2 separate regions of the Homo sapiens genome follow, and region 2 is linked to region 1. Evidence: promoter capture Hi-C in human tissues and cell types (Jung and others, 2019). All regions are on one chromosome and are shown on one strand. Each heading gives the region's core, a stretch centred on a gene start or on the middle of the fragment in contact. The rest is flanking DNA. Distances are from core to core; before and after follow the strand shown.

The links. The method cuts DNA at HindIII sites, captures the fragments that hold promoters and counts their contacts. A contact is called where the count stands out against the background at its distance.
Region 2: a contact is called between a fragment that was not itself captured here and the fragment with the promoter of AMPD1 in region 1, in 1 of the 25 tissues and cell types used here (H1 embryonic stem cells).

What each region holds. Positions count from the first base shown.
Region 1 is chr1:114,693,997-114,697,511 of GRCh38, reverse strand. It overlaps AMPD1 (adenosine monophosphate deaminase 1), which reads left to right and starts at 1,966. Exons shown (of 16, transcript NM_000036.3): 1 at 1,966-2,062. The coding sequence starts at 2,041. The HindIII fragment of the contact is 10,350 bases long and covers 1-3,515 here.
Region 2 is chr1:115,010,616-115,014,130 of GRCh38, reverse strand. No RefSeq gene overlaps it. Among named protein-coding and RNA genes, the nearest start is that of TSHB, 17 kb to the left of the region's middle. The HindIII fragment of the contact is 4,334 bases long and covers 1-3,515 here.

The sequences.
Region 1 (3,515 bases), core at 717-3,216:
ATGTGGCTCTTGTCCTGCTCACCATTTGTGTTAAAACAATGGTTGGTTTGGAGGCCCCTATCCACATATTTCCTTTTTCAGGCAGGAAGAAGAGGAAGGGCAAAAGGCAAAACATATGCCAGCTGAGCTGGTCCCTTTTAAAAGAACTTTTGGAGACATCCCACCCAGCAATTCTGCTTACATCACTTTGGCCAGGCTGTGTCAAATGGCCGCTTCTAGCCACAAAGGATTCTAGCAAATGCTGTTTTTTGGCTGAGCACATTAATGCTCAAACCAAAGAAGTTTTTGTTTGTAAGAAAGGTAGGGAAAATGATCTTTGGGTAGGCAACTAGGGTATTTACACAATTGGAATGAGAAAATTGGAGTGTAACTTATATAAAGATAGGAATTACTGAAGGAGAAGCAGGTTCATGGAGGAAGATGCTTGGTTTGGATGTATCAATTTGTGGATACTGTTGGGAAATCCAGGTAAAAATGTAACAAAAAGGAGTTGGAAAGAAATGAACAAATATTTTGGTTCAGTAACACCTTTGTAATGTGTTGCAATATTGTTGATTGAGAGGTTGGCCATAAGGCTAAGCACTAAAATATTGTTAAGTTTTGCCAACAAAAAGGCTTGTCCCAATTTTCAAAAAGAAATAGTTAATAGTAAAAAGATCATTTGGTCTATGCCCATAATTCTGTTGCTAATCTGAAGTGCCAAGCTCATCTTCAATATAAGCTGTTATAATTTAAAATTTCTGCTGAGTCTAGCAGCGTACTTTCTTTACCTAGCAGCAACTATCAAATATTTAGTCATAACTGGCCGGGCGCAGTGGCTCACGCCTGTAATCCCAGCACTTTGGGAGGCCAAGGCAGGTGGATCATGAGGTCAGGAGATCAAGACCATCCTGGCTAACACAGTGAAACCACATCTCTACTAAAAATACAAAAAATATTAGCCGGGCATGGTGGCAGGCGCCTGTAGTCCCAGCTACTCGGGAGGCTCAGGCAAGAGAATGGCGTGAACCCGGGAGGCAGAGCTTGCAGTGAGCCGAGATCGCGCCACTGCACTCCAGCCCGGGCAACAGAGCGAGACTCTGTCTCGAAAAAAATATATGTATATACACATATATATACATATATACATATATATACACACACATATATACAGTCATAACTAAGACTGTGTGTTATTATGGAAAGAGCGTGAGATTTGGGTCCAGAGAGCCTTGGCTTTGCCATTTATGATGAACAGAATGACTTTGAGCAAGATACCTGTCAGAGCCCCAGTTTTCTTATTTGGGAAACAGGGATAAGGTATTACTTGCCTTACAGGATTGTAATTAGTATCAAATAGATAATGTTTGCCAAATGTTTTACATACAATAAAATGTTATACAAAACAAAGCTATTGTTCTTATTATAACAATAGGTAGAGAAGTGGTAACTGGATACTCTGGAGGACAGTTGAGTTTCTGTAAAAGACTTGAAGTAAATTTAACACTTAATTCATTAAACTGTCAACTGAAGTTCTGCTAAGTCAGACACATTACTAATAAAAACATGCATTCCTGAGCGTGTGTGCGTGTGCGTGTGTGTCTGTTGAGAGCTTGATGAATGTACCAGCATATTCACCAACCACAGAAAGCTGTTTGCGTGATGTGAAACCCTGAGGATCATAGCTTCAGAAACCGGAAAGACTTCACTGTATTTCACTAGGGTGGGATATCACCATCAGTGGTCCTACACTTGCCAAAGATCCAGTCTGTAAGAAGATTTAGAGAGTATTGAAATGCAATTTTTGGCCCACCACAGATATCTTCTAATCCCAAAGTAAAGACTGAAAGCTTCACCTGTTTTTCACTATCAAATGCCTCAAGCTATAAATAGGTCCAAAGCTCATCTCTCTCCACTTAGCAGAGAAGAATCAAATTTCCGGGGGCAAAGCAAAATAATAAAATGAATGTCAGGATATTTTATAGTGTCAGTCAGTCACCCCACAGTCTCCTCTCTCTTCTTTTCTACTGTGCTATCCTAGAATCAAGGATTTCAGCAACAATGCCTCTGTTCAAACTCCCAGGTAGGTGTACAAAGTGTTTGGAGAGCTCAGTTGTTGTTGTTTTTTTTTTTTTTTGACAAGCAACTGTTCCTTTAGCTACCATATCAGCTTTGATCATTCATTTAGGGTTCGTGATAGCTTTAACATACATTTCAGGAAAACACAAAATATTTTCAAGGGTTTTTTGTTTGTTTTTAGTTTTGGGATGTGGGTAAGTTTCTAAAACTGTTATCATGTATATTGCATCTTTGATGATCCCAGTAGAAAACTCTGTGAAATATTTAATATCTATTCTGCTAGTCTAAACAAAACCTGTGCTGCCATAGCTCTGAGACGGCTTCTACATAATGACTCTAGCTATGGTATTGGCTGAAAATCATGAACATGACAAAAATAACCCATGTGTGTATTCTGATGGTTCACGAGAATAGCTTTCTGTTGTCCAGGTTTGTACGCAGAGTAATTTTTAAAATAATAATGTTATAATTTTTAAATGATAAAAGCAATACATGTTTCATGTGAAATAGAAATTGTGCTGAAAAAATAAAAGTAATAAACATTCGTTTTGAAAGTTGGGAAATTCAGTAAAAGTAATAATTTTATTTTTTACTTATTTATTTATTTTTTGAGACAGGGTGTCACTCTGTTGCCCAGGCTGGAGTGCAGTGGCACGATCACGATTCACTGCAGCCCCAATCTTCTGGGATCTGGTGATCCTCCCACCTCAGCCTCCCGAGTAGCTGGGACTACAGGCACTTGCCACCACGCCCAGCTAGTTTTTGTATTTTCTGTAGAGACAGGGTTTCGCTATGTTGCCCAGGCTCATCTTAAACTCCTGAGCTCAAGCAATCTGCCTGCCTCAGCCTCCCAAAGTGCTGGGATTACAAGTGTTAGCCACTGCACCCAGCCAAAAGTAATAATTTTAAAAATCTGCACATCCATTATCCAAAGATATTCACTCTTAACATTTTAGTGTTTTTTTTTCTTTTCAATCTATTTTCTGTGTAAAATTAAAGAGTTTTTTTTAAAAAGGCACTGTTATTATATTGCACATGTAATTTTATATCCTGCTTTTGGCAGGATAATGTTTTGGCTTAACTTTACAACTTATCCTTTTACCATGGTATCCCAAACCTTTCCTAAAAACCATTTTAAAAGACTGCATATTCTATTTTCTTAATTAATCCCTTAGGTTCTTTATGGTTTGGGGGTTTTTTTTTGTTTGTTCGTTTTTGTTTTTGTTTTTGTTTTTTTAGAGACAGAGTCTCGCTCTGTCACCCAGGCTGGAGTGCAGTGGTGCGATCTTGGCTCACTGCAAGCTCCACCTCCCGGGTTCATGCCATTCTGCCTCAGTCTCCCGAGTAGTTGGGACTACAGGCGCCTGCCACCACGCCCGGCTAATTTTTATATTTTTAGTAGAGACGGTGTTTCACATATAACACAGTGAATATCTGTATTAGCCAGGATGGTCTCG
Region 2 (3,515 bases), core at 466-2,965, 320 kb before region 1:
GTGGCACATGTATACATATGTAAAAAACCTGCACGTTGTGCACATGTACCCTAAAACTTAAAGTATAATAATAATAAAATTTTAAAAAATAATAAAATAAATAAAACAAAGGTGACAGATTGCATCATCAGCAGATCTGTATTACAAGAAATGTTAAAGGAGGTTCTTTGAGAAAAAAATAAACAGGAGAAAATGTGATACTACTCAATGAAGAGATGAGTAAATATGTGAGCAAATAAAATTGTTATCATTTCTAATATTGGCAAAAGATGACTGAAGTGAAAGAAGCCAGATACAAAATGTCACATATTGTATGAGTGCATTTATATGACATATGTATAATAGGTTAATGCATGGAGACAAAAAGCTGACTGGTGGTTACCAGAGGCTGGAGAGAGTAGGGAATGGAAAATAACAGCTTAATGAGTACAGAGTTTTCTTTTGGGGTGATAAAAATGTTTTGGAACTAGAGAGATGTTGTGGTTGCATAACATTGTGAATGTATTAAATGCCACTGAGCTCTTCACTTTAAAATGGTTACTTTCCTTGTGTAAAGTTTACCTCAATTTTCTTAAAAAGAAAATTGACAGCTTAAAGCAAAATTAGTAATTATTGTGGTGTTTGTAGAAGTAAATAGTATGTCAAGAATAAAAGAGAGAATAGGAATAAGAAATAGAAATATATTTCTGTAAGTAAGTTTCTTACACTATATATTAGTCTGTTCTCACACTGCTAGAAAGAACTACCTGAGACTTGGTAATTTGTGAAGAAAAGAGGTTTAATTGACTCACAGTTCCACAGACTATACCAGAAAGCATGACTGGGAGCCCTCATGAAACCTACAATCATGGCAGAAGGTGAAGGGGAAGCAAGCACCTTCTTCACATGGTGGCAGCAGAGAGAGTGAGAAAGAGAAGAGGTAAGTGCCACACACTATTAAACCATCAGGTCTTGTGAGAACTTATGATTGCAAGGGGGAATTCTGCCCCCAAGATCCAATTACTTCCCACTAGGTTCCTCCTTTGCTTCAATGTGTGATTTGGGTGAGAACACAAATCCAAACCATATCATTCCACCCCTGGCCCCTCCCAAATCTCATGTCCTTCTCACATTTCAAAACCAATTATGCCTTCCCAACAGTCCCCCAAAGTCTTAAGTCATGCCAGCATTAACTTGAAAGTCCAAGTCCAAAGTTTCATCTGAGACAAGGCAAGTCTCTTCCATCTATGAGCCTGTAAAATAAAAAACAAGTTAGTTACTTCAAGATACATTGGGGGTGCAGGCATTGGGTAAATATTCCCATTCCAAAAAGGAGAAATTGGCCAAACAAATGGGCTACATGCTCCATGCAAGTCTGAAACTCAGCAGGGCAGCCATCAAATCTTAAAGCTTTGAAATAATTTCATTTGACTCCATGTCTTACATCCAGGACACACTGAAGCAAGCAGGGGGTGGGCGCCCATGGCCTTGGGCAGCTCCACCCCATGGCTCTGCACAGGATGGCACTGAGTACCTGTAGCTTTTCCAGGCACAAAGTGCAAGCTGTCAGTGGATCTACCATTCTGGGGTCTGGAGGATGGTGGCCCTCTTCTCACAGCTCTGCTATGCAGTGCCCCAGTGAAGACTCTGTGTGGGGGCTCCAATCCTACATTTCCTTTCCACATTGCCCTAGTAGAGGTTCTTCATGAGGGCTCCACCCCTGCAACACCACATGGAAGTCACCAAGGCTTGGGGCTTGCACTCTCTGAAGCAATGGCCTGAACTGTACCTTGGCCCCTTTTAGCCATGGCTGGAGCTGGAATGGCTGTGATGCAAGTCACCATATCCTGAGGCTGCAGAGAGCAGCAGGGCCTTGTGCCTGGCCCAGGAAACCATTTTTCCCTCCTAGGCCTCCTGAGTGATGGGAGGTGCTACCTCAAAGGTCTCTGAAATGCCCCAGAGACATTTCCCCATTGTCTTGACTATTAACATTCAGTTCCTCTTTACTTATTCAAATTTCTACAGCCAGCTTGAGCTTGAATTCCTCTCCAGAAAATGGATTTTTCTATTCCATCAAATGGTCAGGCTGCAAATTTTCCAAACTTTTACGCTCTGCTTCCCTTTTAAATATAAGTTCCAATTTCAGACCATCTCTTTCTTTATGCAAATGAGCATAGGCTTTTAGGAGCCTCCAGGTCACATTTTCAAGGCTTTGCTGCTTAGAAATTTCTTCTATCAGATACCCTAAATCATCTCTCTCAGGTTCAAACTTACACAGATCTCTAGGGCTGGGGCAAAATGCTGCCAGTCTCTGCTAAAGCATAGCAAGAGTAACCTTTACTCCAGTTTCTAATAAGTTCCTCATCTCCATTTGAGACACCCTCTGTCAAGCCTCTGAGTCCAAGCTAAGGCATCATATCCCCTATGACCTGCATGTATACATCCAGATGGCCCAAAGCAACTGAAGAACACCAAAGAAGTGAAAATAGCCAGTTCCGGCCTTAACTGATGACATTCCACCATTGTGATTTGTTCCTGCCCCACCCTAACTGATCAATTGACCTTGTGACATTCCTTCTCCTGGACAATGAGTCTCAGAAGCTCCCCACTGAGCACCCTATAACCCCCACCCCTGTCCACAAGAGAAAACCCCTGTTTGACTGTAATTTTCCACTATCTACCCAAATCCTATAAAACTGCCCCACCCCATCTCCCTTTGCTGACTCCTTTTTTGGACTCAGTCCACCTGCACCCAGGTGATTAAAAAGCTTTGTTGCTCACATAAAGCCTGTTTGGTGGTCTCTTCACATGGCCAAGCATGTCACCCTCAGCCTGGACTTCATTTTCCATATCACTATCAGCATTTTGGTCAAAAGCATTCACCAAATCTCTAGGAAGTTCCAAGCTTTCACATATCTTCCTGTCTTCTTCTGAGTCCTCCAAACTGTTCCAACCTCTGCTCATTACCAGTTCCAAAGTCACTTCCACATTTTCAAATATCTTTATAGCAGTGTCCCACTCTTCTAGTACCAATTTTCTGTATTAGTCCATTCTCACATTGCTAGAAAGAACTACCTGAGAGTGAGTAATTTATGAAGAAAAGAGGTTTAATTTACTCCATTAATTACCTGACCTCCATAAGCCACTACTTTAACTGGAGGACCACAGTGATGTTTTGGGTCCCTTGGAATCAATGTCAGCTCAGAGCCAGTGTCCAGTATTCCCTGAAAGATCTGATCATTTCCCTTTCCTTAATGCACAATTACTCTGGTAAAAGGTTGAAGGTCAGGCCGGGCACAGTGGCTCATGCCTGTAATCCCAGCACTTTGGGAGGCTGAGGCAGGCAGATCATAAGGTCAGGAGTTCAAGACCAGCCAGGCCAACAAGGTGAAACCCTGTCTCTACTAAAAATACAGAAATTAGCTGGGCATGGTGGCATGTGTCTGTAATCCTAGCTACTGGGGAGGCTAAGGCAGGAGAATTGCTTGAACCAGGACCCAGGAGGCAGAGGTTGCAGTGAGCCGAGATTGTGCCAC